2 separate regions of the Homo sapiens genome follow, and region 2 is linked to region 1. Evidence: promoter capture Hi-C in 16 types of primary human blood cells and fetal thymus (Javierre and others, 2016). All regions are on one chromosome and are shown on one strand. The core of a region is centred on a gene start or on the middle of the fragment in contact, and the rest is flanking DNA. Distances in the headings are between cores, read along the strand shown.

What was found. Contacts are between HindIII fragments. The CHiCAGO score rates a contact against its expected background, and 5 or more counts as called.
Region 2: a fragment that was not itself captured here is called in contact with the fragment with the promoter of DCTN2 in region 1 in 1 of 17 cell types (neutrophils); the score reaches 5.3 in neutrophils.

Annotation. Positions count from the first base shown.
Region 1 is chr12:57,544,476-57,551,675 of GRCh38, forward strand. DCTN2 (dynactin subunit 2) reads right to left here and starts at 2,717. Exons shown (of 14, transcript NM_001261413.2): 1 at 2,553-2,717; 2 at 1,553-1,621. The coding sequence starts at 2,588. KIF5A (kinesin family member 5A) reads left to right here and starts at 5,569. Exons shown (of 29, transcript NM_004984.4): 1 at 5,569-5,925. The coding sequence starts at 5,797. RefSeq lists enhancers at 2,846-2,985, 5,904-6,496 and a silencer at 5,296-5,635. The HindIII fragment of the contact is 9,827 bases long and covers 420-7,200 here.
Region 2 is chr12:57,056,891-57,064,090 of GRCh38, forward strand. NEMP1 (nuclear envelope integral membrane protein 1) reads right to left here. Exons shown (of 9, transcript NM_001130963.2): 6 at 7,181-7,200; 7 at 6,229-6,454; 8 at 3,882-4,055; 9 at 1-3,169. The coding sequence ends at 2,989. Among named protein-coding and RNA genes, the nearest start is that of MYO1A, 10 kb to the left of the region's middle. The HindIII fragment of the contact is 1,220 bases long and covers 2,323-3,542 here.

The DNA.
Region 1 (7,200 bases), core at 1,467-3,966:
GCAATCTCGGCTCACTGCAACCTCCACCTCCCAGGTTCAAGCAATTCTCCTGCCTCAGCCTCCACAGTAGCTGGGACTATAAGCGCTCGCCACCACGCCTTGCTAATTTTTATATTTTTTAGTAGAGACGGGGTCTCAAACTCCTGGCCTCAAATGATCCACCTGCCTCAGCCTCCCAAAGTGCTGGGATTACAGGCATGAATCACCACACTGGGCCTATTTTTTATTTTTAAAAAATATTTTCCATTTGTGATTGGTTGAATCCATGGGTTTGGAACCCATAAATACAGAGAACCGATTGTATACACTCCTATTCTGTGAGGACAGAGGCAGCTTCCTATAAGATGCCTCTTGGAGTGACAGGTGCACACCCAGGTCCTTGAGCAACAACATCATCTGCATTATCTCCAAGATACTCAAGCTTAGGGGATAGATTGGCATGCCAGCAAATACAGAAGCCACAAGGAACACACCACTGGGAGAAGGGACAGAGAAGGTGTTTCCCACAATGTAAGAACCACTTCCACATGGGGGAGTCAAATAAGAAATAAGTGAGTACGCCAAGCCACACATTGTAAGCCAGCAGTCAGCATTCCCCAGAATTAACCAGCCCCACAGACATAGCCACAGGACTTACAGACAAGCATACTGAGCCTGCATATTGCAATGACTCTTGGACACATCTTTACTGAGAACTCACATCATCAATGTGATCCCAGCCCAGCTGTCTTCAGAAATAATAGAACCTAAAACACATCCTATAAACACACCTCTTGGCACTTAAACAGAGTTTTTACTATGTTGATTTCCATTCACTCAATTTTTTTTTCCTTCTATATGTTTCCTATATGTATCCTAATTCCCCATTAGTCTGGGGCTCATTGGGGGCAGAGACATTTCTTCCTCTGCATTGCACAAAAAAAACCACAGAATGAACACACTCAATAAACCATACTAAATGTTTCCCCTCACAGTTAAAATGTATCCGTACCTAATTACTCCATCCTCAGAATTCTCGGATCTAAAAATGCAACCACAGTCTCACATCCGCTGATGTGAAATATTTACATTCTTCCTCAAATTTGTTTTGCTCTAAAATCTTGGAATCACTTTCTTAATTCCTTGCCCAATGGATACTGGATATTCATATGGAAAAAGTATTTCTCCATATTTCAAAGTCTAGTTCTTGGTAGCAGTTTATTACAAGTGCCCAGGCTTCATGATTCATTTCCATGGGTTAGAACCCAGGGGCCTAAGTCACTAGCTCCAAACCTGTTTTGAGATATTTCAATTTTATTTAAAAGGCCCAAGAATCAGGGCTTTGCAAACAGATGTTGTTAGCTGTAATTCCGCTGACTTGACTCTCCCTCCTGCCATTGCTCATTGGTGGCTGCAAGCCCAGCAAGGTCTTTGCAAGCCCTGCAACCTATATACCACCCAGGCTGGGGTTGGCATACCCGCTTATTGCTGTAGCTCCCCCGAGAAAGGGAAGGACCTGTCTAGGGGAGAAAGGTCAGAGTCCGGAGGAGTCTGTGGCAGCACACATTCTTACCGCATCGAACTCCGCTTGATCATCCTCAGGTAGGTCGCTAGTTTCATAAACATCTGGCTCATTCCTGGCCTGCAGGTAGAAGCAGTGACCACCCAACCTCACTACCCAGCATCCAACAACACCCCTTCCCCCACTCCATTTGAATAAGCTAACAGAGAAGGCGGGGTGTGATGTCAGGGTTCTGTCCTTTCTCCTCCACCTGCCCCGTGAGTCAACAGTATGTCAGTTCCCATGTCTCAAGGGGTAGGGATGACAGCGGAAACAATTGGGACCTGACAGTAAACGGTGAGTGTAAGTGATAGCAACGATGTTACCCTAAATCTAGAGGCGGGCAGGTCCTTGGCAATCACTATTGCCAAAGAAGGTGAAGGCTATCCTCCAATTAGGCCCCGTACACCACCACCCTGGCACAAGGATTGAGAGTGACTCAGGACCTTAGTACTCAAGGTCCTGTGTCCCAACCCTCACCTTGAGAAGCAGGCAGGGCAGCACAAAAGGAAGGTACACGCCAGGATTGTCATGGGAGTGGGGGCTGGGGGAGGGCATAGGTTCCCTCAAGGATAGAGCTCCCCATCTGGCACAAGAGGGTTCTGCCAGATGGCAGAACCTCTTCCTTGGCAGGATGAAGGCCATCGTTAAGTGGTCTGGTGTGTGTGTCTGGGGTAGCGATGGGGTCTTATGGAGAGATTTGGGGGGGACATGGGAGGCGTTGACACGGATGGTGGAAAAACTCAGGCACAAGAGGTCAGTACCCGGAGTCGATTTCTGGGCCGAGCTACCGGCGACTGCCGGAAAGGGGGCCTGGTGCGCCGTCCGGCGGCCCGGCCCAGTCGGGTCAGAAGAGTTCGGGGGGTGCTGAGGCCGATCGGAGAACGAGCGGCGGGAGCCCTTGGGCGGAGGATGGGCTGCAGGCGGGAGGGGTCGCGGGCTGGTTTCTGCTGGGGGTCCTTGGGAGGTCGGGGGCGCGGTCCTGGGGAGCCGGGGCCGGTCCTGTACTCACAATGCCGGGAAGGTCGGCGTATTTAGGGTCCGCCATGGCGGCGGCGAGACGGGCTGGGGGACCCGGGCCTCGGTGGAGCCGGGGCCGGTGTTCGGGTAGGGGAGAGGCTGGGTTCGGGTCCCGGGCTAAGGCGGCGGCAAAGGGAGCGGCAGATGAGCAGGAAGTCTCGCGACAGCAGTAGCACAGCAGAAGGGTAAAGCAAAAGTCGCGAGAACAGCCCTGCTGCCACACCCCTGGAGAGGCCGGGATTGGGGAGAACGAGGCCAGGGAATGAGGTAATGGCCAGGGGACGCCGCCTAGGATTGTGGGATGTGTAGTTTTGGTGTACTGGAGCTTGGGCGGGGAGCGACAATAACGAACCTTGGGGAGCTATTTCATACAGCCTTTTCTCTCACTTTTACAGCAAGTCAGTGAAAGAACATTTATAATTCCTGTTTGGGGCTCCCAGGAATAAAATGACTAGATTAAATGATACAGGTAGTCATACTGTGACACAGCCGGGGTTTCAAAAACAAGAAGTTTGCTTGATACTGTGTATTATAAAAACAAAATAAAAACAAGAAGTAAAATTTAGTAAACGCGTAGTGTATGTTAGGAATGAAAAAGTTAGGCAATCTTCTCAAGTAAGGGCTTTCAGATAATTTGAATTTCAGATAATAAGTAGGTGTGTGTGTGTGGTGTGTGGTGTGTGGGTATACTAACCCCCCAAAAATTAAGTATCTGAAATTCACATTTAACTGGGCATCCTGTTTTTGTTTTTTGTTTTTCAAATCTGGCAATTCTATCTGAAGTTCATAAGTAGGTAAGTGGTGTCTCCATGTCTGTCTGAACACTCTCTGGGCTCTTAACTACTTCGTTAATAGTTCTCAGACTTTTATTTATTTTTCAATTTTTTCAATTTTGTGGGTACACAGTAGGTGTATGTATTTATGGGACACATGAGATATTTTGATACAGGCATGCAATGTGAAATAAGCACATCATGGAGAAGAGGGTATCCATCCTCTCAAGCATTTATCCTTTAAGTTACAAATAATCCAATTACTCTTTAAGTTATTTTAAAATGTACAGTTGAGTTATTCTTGACTATAGTCACCCTATTGTGCCATCAAATAGTAGGTCTTATTATACTTTCTAATTTTTTGTACCTATTCACCAACCTTACCTTCCGTTCTCAGACTTTTAAATTTCATCGTTCAATAAAATTAAAACAACTACAAACCTTGAAGATTTGCCTTTTTATTTTATCAAGTAAGTATATTACAAATAGAAAACCTATTATTTACTGTCACCATCATTACTTGGTAGAAAAGCAAGAAGGACACACTCAGAATAAAAGATAGTCCTTTGAAACTTATCAAATCCATCTTTATATTAAAAAAAAACTCACCATTGTTCTTTTGGAGGTGAGGGCATACTCAGTGAACTTTTGTCTCTGACCAGTGACCCTCCATGGACTGGCATTTTGAAACCCCTTTACTAAAGATGCCACCTTGGAGCCCCTGGGGACCCAAGGATGGGATGTTTCCCAGGATGTTTCCTGAGCTTGCAGGATGCTGCAACACTTAGAAATTGTGCCAAACCAAGTGACTAGAGAGTTCCTGAGTTCGGAACTCGTTGTCTTTCTTTCTCCTGGCTCCTCCCCAAGCCTCTATCCCTTTCTCCATAGTCCTACAGCTTTCCTGTCCCATTCCTTATGTTGGACTCTTTTCTTTCAGTTCCCTTAAGATTCAAGGTAGGTTAGAGGTGTAGCCCCAATGTGGGAAACCCCCTGAGTTCTGAATAGTTAGGTCTTGTCTGGCCAGGCTATCAGCCTCTTACTTTTGTCCCATAGTGTCTTAAGTGACCTTAACCACTCACCAGACAGTTGCTGAGCAGAACTTTCCTTTCCTCCTCCTTCTCCCATCCACCCTGCCCTTCCTCTTTGCCTAGAACCTCAACTCCTGCAGTCCAACTCTCTGTTGGCCAGCAGAGGCCTGTGACATGGAGAAAAATCAATTTGGCCAGCTTCTTGGTGGTTCTTTCCAGGGGCTGCAGCAGGAGTCTGACCCAAAGGAAGGAAGGACAAGGAATCTCTGGGCTTGGCATTTCTTTCGTTTTTCTTCCCCCACACCTTTTTTTTTTTGGCCAGGGAAGGGGGCTGAAGTATTGGGACTCTATCCTCCAATGGTTACTGAGACAGAAAACACACACTCCCGTAGGTATCTGAATTTGCCTGAAACCCAAATGCCGGCTTTGCCTCAGACTTCAAAGTCTCTCTGGCCTTACCCATCCCCATCATTGCCCCTCCTTCACTGCTTTCTGACTCCCTTTCTCTTGCAAAGATGTTTCCCACCCATCTTCCTCCCATCCTCAGCCTAGGACACAAAAATAAGTATTGTATCTGCTTTTGAATTCCCATAACCCAGAATGGGAGTTTATCTTCCCTGAAACTGGGGACCTGGTGTGTACGTTGGGGAGACAGTATAGTGCACCTTTGGATGTGGAAGGGGAAGGGAGTAGCCAGAACCTCCCACGACACCCAACTTCATAGGAGTACAGGCAGGGGTCCCCCCAGAAAGCTGAGTGGGTTGGGAGTCCAGCTTCCGTGCATGTGGGGCATGGGATGGGCGTAGGGGGAGAATGAGAAGTGTGATCCCAGTTTGGAGAGAGGACTGTGACGGGTTGGGGGATGCCCTGGAATAAAGGGAGAGGGAGATCTGTTGACCCTTTTCGCTACACAGGCGACAGGCCCACCTCAGTCCCCTTATCCCTTCCAGGGGGTGGAGTCTGAGGGAGGGACAAACAGGTCGGGGGTATAGGGGTGGGATGCAGTGAGTTGGGTGGGGAAGGGTCGAGGGCAAGGTTATCTCCGAACGTTAGGGGTGGGGGAGGGAGGAGAGGAGCGGTGAGGTTCCACCCTTCGGGGGTCGACGTCGAGCCAGCGTCCCCAGTGGAGGGAGCCCCGCCCCCGCTCCTCCATCGCGGCCCCGCCCAGGCCCGCAGCGCGGCGCTGCAGCGCGAGGGGCGGAGAGGCAGAGAGCCCGAAAGGACCAGACGCCCAGGTCGCCCGCATCCCGCTGCCGCAGGAGAGAGACAGCGCGCCCCGGCCCTGCTCCCCAGGCTTCGCCCGGGCGCCCTCAACTCTGTCCCCAGAGACTGAGCACCTGTCCTCCGCCTCGGCCTCTGCTGAGAGCCCTCTCCTCTGGAGCACACACCACCCCTGCAGCCCAAGAAGAGTCCCAGCCCCACGCCGGCTACCACCATGGCGGAGACCAACAACGAATGTAGCATCAAGGTGCTCTGCCGATTCCGGCCCCTGAACCAGGCTGAGATTCTGCGGGGAGACAAGTTCATCCCCATTTTCCAAGGGGACGACAGCGTCGTTATTGGGGTGAGTGTCGCCCAGGAGGGAATTCGGGGAGGGGGCAGGTGGCTGAATCTCCCCGCCCCCCGCAGAGCCTTAGTCTCTGCTGGTCCCTTTGCTCCCCCTCCCCGCCGCTCATCCTTCATCCTCTTCCCCGCAGCCCCTCCTCTCCCCTGCATCAGGATGGCTGGGTGTGGCCTGGCCAGGCCAGCGGCCGAGTCTCTGCAGAGTGGCAGGGGGCTGCTTTCCTACCTTCGGGAGATCCAACTCCCCTTTGCTGCTGTCTGCAGCGTCTCCACCCGTTAGAACCAGTCCCATGTTTTTCTGATGTTTTCCCCTTCTCCACCACCCGCTCCCCAAGAGAAAGCGCATCTTCCCTTTGTTATTGGCTCAGATCTCTACCCCCACCTCCCGGAAGGTAAGGCGGAAGACTTTTGGGTGGATTAGATGGGAGGTGAGCAGTCCAGGGTCTCTGCAGAGTGTGGATGGAAGTGGGCTCTAAGACCAAACCTTCCATCATTCCCTAAAGTAGTTATAGCCTGGATTTTTGTGTGTGTGTTGTGGGGAGTAGGTCTGATGCAGGGTTTACTGGGAAAGAAATCATTGATGCCACACCCAATCTTGGGGGGAGCCTCTGGAATCCTAAGGTCAGGTCTGCCTTTTGGTCCCAGGTACAGTAGGAAGAGGGTTTCAGATTCCCCAACTGACCCCCCTAAAGAAAAATGCCCAAACCCTGAGATCCTAGTCAGTACCTGCTTATTCATCCTTTCTCTTGAGGATCCAATAGAAAGTAGCCATCCAGCTCTACCTCATCATGACAGCCCTACCCAAGGAGGATATCTTAAGGGAACTAATATTAACAGTGGGCCTGTTACTCTACGTATATTATTTAACCCCCAAAACAACATTCAGAAGTAGTATCAATATTTCCATTTTACAGATGCAGAAATTGAGGCCCAAAGAACTTGAATAACTTTCTCAAGGTCATGCTATTCATCCATGGATCTGAACCTAAATCTGTGACTGCAAACCTCCCATCTCTTCTATCACATTGCCTACCCAGGTTTCTGTTCTGCACCTTTATCTGTAATGGCCCAAAGGGAAATTCTAGGCCTTGCCCACTCCCCCTGAGGTTGGTAGGGACCTCAGGCTGTGTGTGGGGAGAAAAGATCTGGGGTCGAGTCCTGTAGGGCTTGAGGGGTGCTGGGCCAGGAAACAAAAACTAGCTTGAGGAGGGAGGGGCATGTACGAGGGCAGTCAAGGTCAGAGGTGCTTCTTATGTATCTTTATCCACAGTGCTTG
Region 2 (7,200 bases), core at 1,683-4,182, 490 kb before region 1:
ACCCAAAGAGCTATCAGCAAAATTCCCTTTGTAACAGACGTAAAAATCATGAATTTGAGGGGAAAAATAAACTAGTTTTGGTGGGATGCAGTGGCTAACAGGAATTACTTATTAGAAGGTAATGAAGTTGCTAAATTTTCCTTGTTTTTGATCCCTGTGTTCTGTTGGTCTCTTGAAGCAATCTGAGTGGGAAAGGAAAGTGAAAGAAATGTTTTATGCCAGCTGCCTCTTGTATTCCCATTAATGGGAGTCTCTACATTAATGCTCTACATAATTTGGTCAGACTGATGAGAGGCAATAGATTTCCAATGCTGATGAGATCCAGAGCCCTGGAGCCCATTTATGGCTTGACATTCACCCAGCAAGACGCTGACGTGGCAGCAAACACGGCTCCAATGTCCAGCTTACCTCATAGTTATCCCTTCAATCCTTCTTGATGAGATTGGTCTGAGAGATGAGACTGTACTGAAATCACAAGAGCTATAACTGCCAGAGAAAAATTAAATGGGGTCTTCAAGTAGTGACTGAGCCAGCAAACTAAGTGGCCAAGAGGGAGACAAGAGCAGCTCCTAAAGAAGGTTGAAGTCAAGCAATCTCCGGAACACAGAGGATCTGAAGCATCTGGGCAGAGCCACAGGCAGGCAGGGCAAGGACACACAGCACACCAGAGCAGCACCGTCCTTCACTGTGTGAGAGCAACTCTCAGGCTGCAGAACCAATTGCCATCTCCACTGCCTACAGCTCAGGTCTCCAACTACCAGATAGGGAGTAAAAAACAGTTTGATTTTATTCACCTCAAGTCTAAACACGGTGGAAAAAAAACTGGTCTAGAGATGGAAACTATATTTCATGGGGGTTTATTAAACAGAGAAAGAGGAGAATCTTTCACAATTTCACAGTGCTTTCTCATTGAAATAAAGACATGATCAGGAAAAGTCACCCTTATAGGCAAGCTATCACCTCCCTAAGTAGGGGAGGCACCAAAATCTCCAGAGAATCCTGAGACCACTTGCACGAGTTGAATTATTTTTTAAAATAAACTTATGCTTAAATATGCTAGGTCTCAATTTCTATAAATAAGGTAAAAAATAGTATATTTCAGAAGTTTTAATAGTTCTTTGTAGAGAGAGAACATTTTACCATGTACATAATTCACAAGGGTATAAAGGTTTCCCAATGTAAAGTTCCTTTTACCCTTCAACTGTAACCCATAGCATCTGCCCAAATACTGCTCATTTTTCACTTTCTACTATATGTCTCTTTCCTGCCAACTGAGGTAGTTGTCACTTAGGACAGTTTAAGGCTCTGGAAAACACTGGTGGAAATAATCAACTGCCCACCTGGAGGGCAGTCTCAGAGCTGACCCTTTGGAAGTCTGCAATGGAGCTAGGCCTTTCAAAATTACCACGCTAAATGGCTGGTCTAAAGGAGTCATTACGGCTTTTTAAAAAATCATCTGCCTTTTTCCATCATCTTGGTGAGCCAGTAAGTCTGGTGCTGTGCGCTTGCCATGACCATCTATCTTCCTGGCTAAGGTAATTACAGACTTTTCCAGGGTATAAGGGTGAAGACCACAAAGAAAAAGAACCAAGTAAATGACAGACACTTGAGAATTTGCTTCCTCACAGATGACATTGCTGGTTTATAAGGGGTACTTTGCAATGGCAAAAGAATCTGAAACTAATGCTACTGCAATAACAGGCAGCATACATCTCAGGTCAGAAACGCAATCATAAATAAGTGTAAGTTCATGGAAACTTGACAGCTGAATGAGCACCCAGAGGCATGAAGATAACCTGGAGCCTATTTCCTGGCAATGCAAATTGTGGCTGCTGCATAACTACAAATTGTGTATCAAGAAACTACATAGTTTCAAGGCTTAAAAATTACCCAGATTTGGGGGAGTATGGGTGGTGAGAAAAGGCTGAAAGGAATGGACAGAGCATGTAGACAAAGGAAGGGAAAGGAAAAGGAGACAGTTTCCTGATTTCATAGCAACTCAAAGATAACATGACCCAATGACAGGAAAATGGAGAACGTATAAAAAGCATCCAAATCCCCTAAACAAGATGACTTCTCCTAGCTAGCAGGAATAATGCTACTCTGAACATACATAGTTCACAGGTAAGGGAACTGACCCTTCCTGAAAGGGCAAAGGCAGGGTAAGGAAGAATGGGAAGAGAAGAATACAAATGTTTTTTAAGATGGAATTGAAAGTTGAATATAATAAAAAGCCCAGTACATCTCACCTGCAGAAGAGCCTACAGGCATGTTCCTAAAGGCAAATAGGACTTTCTATCATATGTATGAGAACTAAATCAAAGCTTAAAACAACAGCTCCTGGGGCTTTAATGGATAATCCATATTAATAAATATGTAGGGGCCTAGGGGGTGTGTCACTCTGGAGCACTTGCTGGTTCTGGAACATGAGTTTGTTATGTTTTTTAAAAGACATTCATTTAAAAAACAAAACAATAAAAATCTATTTTCCTCCCAAAACAGTTAAATCAATAATTATTCTAAAGTCACTGAAATAAAAGCTGGAGTGAAGGAGGCTCAGATTTGTGGATTTCTCTCTGGAAGTTGCAGCCTATAGTCTAAAAGCATTCCTGCACTTAACAACAGTTCTTACTTTGGAGAGCCAGCCAGTGACAGAAATGCCATGATTGAATCAACTTTCAAGAAGGAGCTAGAATGCCATGCTAGCTGTGGCCATCCAATTTCTCTGGAAACATAAAAGTGGGCTGTTAGCTTAACCAATGGGAAGTGAACTACCCAGCATTCACTACTTTATCCACTCTCCTTCCTCAGGGATCCCATAGAGACCTCCCATTTCCAAAGGGAGGCCTTTTTAGGCCTCTTATTTCAGTAGGAGAATTTCTACCCTATCTATCTCACTCTGTTTCAAAGGGTTGAAAGCAATTGCACAACACATGCAACATGGACCAAGGCACCAAGCCAGTCCACGTAAAGATAACTGACCACTACCTAGGTTAGAAAGTTGTTCTGTGTGATAGCAGGACACCGAGAATATGAGTCCTCCTCCTCAGAGGATGCTTCCTCATAGATTTCATCCTGGGCAATAATGCTCCCTAATCCATACTCCTGCTCATGGACAGAAACTTCATTTGGCGTGAGGTGGGAAGAGCCTTCCACAAAGTCAGCAAATCTGGAAAAGAGAAGATAATACTCGTTAGAAATATCCTTCTGTCCTTTCTGGTCTTCTTTCAAAATAAGAACAAATTAAAGCCCTCGATATGCTCGCAACTCAAATTATATTAAGTCTAGCCAACATCCTTGTCCTTACTCTGGCAGGTAAGTAGACTAAAGCATGAAGTTAAGGAGAAAAGGAAAGCTGGGATCATAGGCTAATACCCCTGCAACTCCATCCTGCTTAATAAGCACTTGCCTATCCTTTCTAATTATGAAAGTGCCAAGGTTCCTTTAGTCATCTGTAATCCTGATAAGAGAAGATTAAGGGGCATTACAGTTATTCACGTTTATGGCCCTGTAAACTTTATGCCATCATGATTCCAAATTGAAGCTTCACATACTCATTGGTACATTTGCCCCCAACTAAAAAGTGGGTAGGGGGGAACCCTACCAACTCAGACAGCAATGCAAAACTTTCAGAAGGGAAACTTAATATGGTACTGGAGTCTTCCCATCTTAATGCTACAATCAAAGCTAGAGTAGATAGTTCCCTGAGGAAACAGGTTACTGCTTAATGTGTGATTATATATCCACCCTTCTCTTGACTACTTGAAGATTAACAGGAAAACAAAGGTCACAAGTGCACGATTCTCTAGAAGTATGATCTCTGGTAGAACTCAAGGTCACAATTACCCTGATAGATGCTTGGTATATCTGGCCGAGTTTACCTTTTTGGAGACTGGATTCGAGAAACAGTCTTCCAAGCAGAGCAGTCTGGACTGTTACAAAATTCTCGGAGCTCCTCTAAAGCCTTTCGGGTTTCTACCTCTCCTTGTATCCGATATTCTTCTTCTGTCAGGAGACGAGGGGGAACAGGCTTTTCTGCTCCCTTACACACCTTTCTGTGCTCACCAAAATAACATTATGAATCATTAATCAGTAATCTATATCCATCCTTACTTCTAGCTCCCTTCAGTGGGCCAAGAATACAGCAGACAGCCTGAACATTAAGAGTCATCACTCCTAAAAATTCCATGGACATCTTTAGTTATAATGAACTCCTGATACATTAGACTATGAGTGACAATTCATAGGCGACAGAGCGAGACTCCATCTCAAAAAAAAAGTGATATAATTTGCACCACCTTGTGGTAACAGGAACACATGACATTTTACTAGACCTTTTTATTTTATATAAAATGACTAGAATAAAAATATAAAAATGCCTATAGAAAGTAAAAAATTATAGTCAATATTATTCACTAATGTGAACAAACTCACTTTATTTTCCAATAAATGATAAAATACTTACTTATTTTCTAGTAGATGGGAAAATAACAGAAAATCATGGTATAAGACTGTGGTTCTAGCCAGGCACAGTGGCTCACGCCTATAATCCCAGCACTTTGGGAGGCCAAGGCAGGCAGATCACCTGAGGTCAGGAGTTGGAGATCAACCTGACCAACACAGAGGAACCCCATCTCTACTAAAAATACAAAATTAGCCAGGCATGGTGGTGCATACCTGTAATCCCAGCTATTCGGGAGGCTGAGGCAGGACAATCGCTTGAACCAGGGAGGCGGAGGTTGCAGTGAGCCGAGATCATGCCATTGCACTCCAGCCTGGGCAACAAGAGCAAAACTCCATCTCAAAAAAAAAAAAAAACAAAAAAAAACGCCGGGCAAGGTGGCTCACACCTGTAATCCCAGCACTTTGGGAGGCCAAGGTGGGCAGATCACAAGGTCAAGATTGAGACTATCCTGGCCAACATAGTGAAACGCCATCTCTACTATAAAAATGCAAAAATTAGCTGGGCATGGTGGCATGTACCTGTAACCCCAGCTACTCAGGAGGCTGAGGCAGGAGAATCGCTTAAACCCAGGAGGCAGAGGTTGCGGTGAGCTGAGATAGCACCACTGCACTCCAGCCTGGTGACAGAGCAAGACTCCATCTCAAAAAAAAAAGATTGTGGTCCAGTAACTTGGTTTCCCAAACTGAAAGCATCACCTTGACTATCTATAATAGACAACTTCAGGACCTAGTAACATTCCATATTTATTATGCAAGGTGACAAAACATGCTATGAATTACATCTTAAAATAAGACTAAGACCTCCAGAGCAATCTGAAAGCCACTGAGAAATAGTCTGAAATGGGCTGGGTGAGGTGGCTCACGCCTATAATCCTAGCACTTTGTGGGGCTGAGGTGGGCAAATCACCTGAGGTCAGGAGTTTGAGACCACCCTGGCCAACATGGTGAAACCACATCTCTATTAAAAATACAAAAATTAGCCAGGCATAGTGGCGCCCACCCGTAGTCCCAACTATTCGGGAGGCTGAGGCAGAAGAATCACTTGAACCCGGGAGGTGGAGGCTGCAGTGAGCCGAGATCACGCCATTGTGCTCCAGCCTGGGTGACAGAGAGAGACTCTGTCTCAAAAAAAAAATCTGAACCCAGGAGACCTCAATGAGCATACGGTATAAAAGCGATACAATTTGTGGCGGGGCGCAGTGGCTCATGTCTGTAATCCCAGCACTTTGTAATCCAAGCACTTTGGGAGCTCCTCAGCACTTTATGAACTCCTGACATTTGAGGTCAGGAGTTCAAGACCAGCCTGGTCAACATGGGGAACCCTACTAAAAATATAAAAATTAGCTGAATGTGGTGGCGCATGCCTGTAATCCCAGCTACTCAGGAGGCTGAGGCAGAAGAATCGTTTGAACCCGGGAGGTGGAGGTTGCAGTGAGCCGAGATCACGCCACTGCACTCCAGCCTGGGCGACAGAGCGAGACTCCATCTCAAAAAAACAGTGATAGAATTTGCACCACCTTGTGGTAACAGGAACACATGACATTTTACTAGACATTTTATATAAAATGACTAGAATAAAAATATAAAAATTCCTATAGAAAGTAAAAAAAAAAAAATAGACTCGGGAAGGAACAAAAGTGGAAGTACAATACAATGACTTTTCATTAACAAAGAAGCTCCCAGGTCAACACCTCTGTATCCTCTTGCTGCAACTGCATCCCACAATGTACCTGTCAATATTAAGTTACATTGCCTTTCAGTCACCTGCAGGTGATGTACAGCCACTGAATAGGGTGTTCCAGGTTCTTAGTACAAAGAGCAATGATGATAATGGCAAGGGCAATATGTGGTATCTGGATGCCAGAATACATGAAACACAGGCCCATCAGCTGCAAGGTCCAGGTCAGCAGGTTGATACTTCGTTCATTCTCCAAGGGCCCATACTTGTAACATACTGCAAAACTCATGAATCCAACTGTGAGGACATAACCTATGAGAAGAGTTATCAGAAGACATTCTTTTTCATCTATACTTGGTAAAAATAATTTGTGTGGGAAGCAGTAGTTAATTTACTATATAGCACCAATTGAACTAGGAAATCAGATTTTTACTTAATTTTTCACACTTTTTTCTTAGAATATATTTCTCTAAGTTTCTATCCTTTCTGCTGTCCCAAATTTATTTGGTTCAAACAGAACATTAAAGGTACATGTTGAACAACCCTGAAATAGACTATTTTAAAAAACCAATATACAGAAATCCAGATTAATCACCCTTCAAAGGATAACTCAAAGGTTACTATCTATATGACCAAGGATTTTTACTTTGTAAATAAAATCTACAGCAGTTCATTCAGAAATGAAGGAGAAAAAAATTAACTGCGGAGTCTTTTACTTAAGGTCCCCAAGTATATTTAAAATATGATTCCATTAATAAAGTCAACTTACAGCTTTTCAGAAAGATGTTTATTGTGTAAAGAAAGGTATATTTATAAATACCAATAAATGAACATCTTCGCCTTAACAGCACCATTCTAATTTAAGAGAAGGTGATAATTGTAGAGGGATTAGAAATAAGTGAAAAACTATGATTTTTAAAAGTTTAAAAAAATGACATGAACTATTAAATCCCATAAGCAGGCAAAATCTTTTCATGATCAAATTAACTGAAACAGCCTATAAACGTACAAAAGGAAAGCAAAACCGACAACACTTACTTAAAAGATACTGCCAGTAA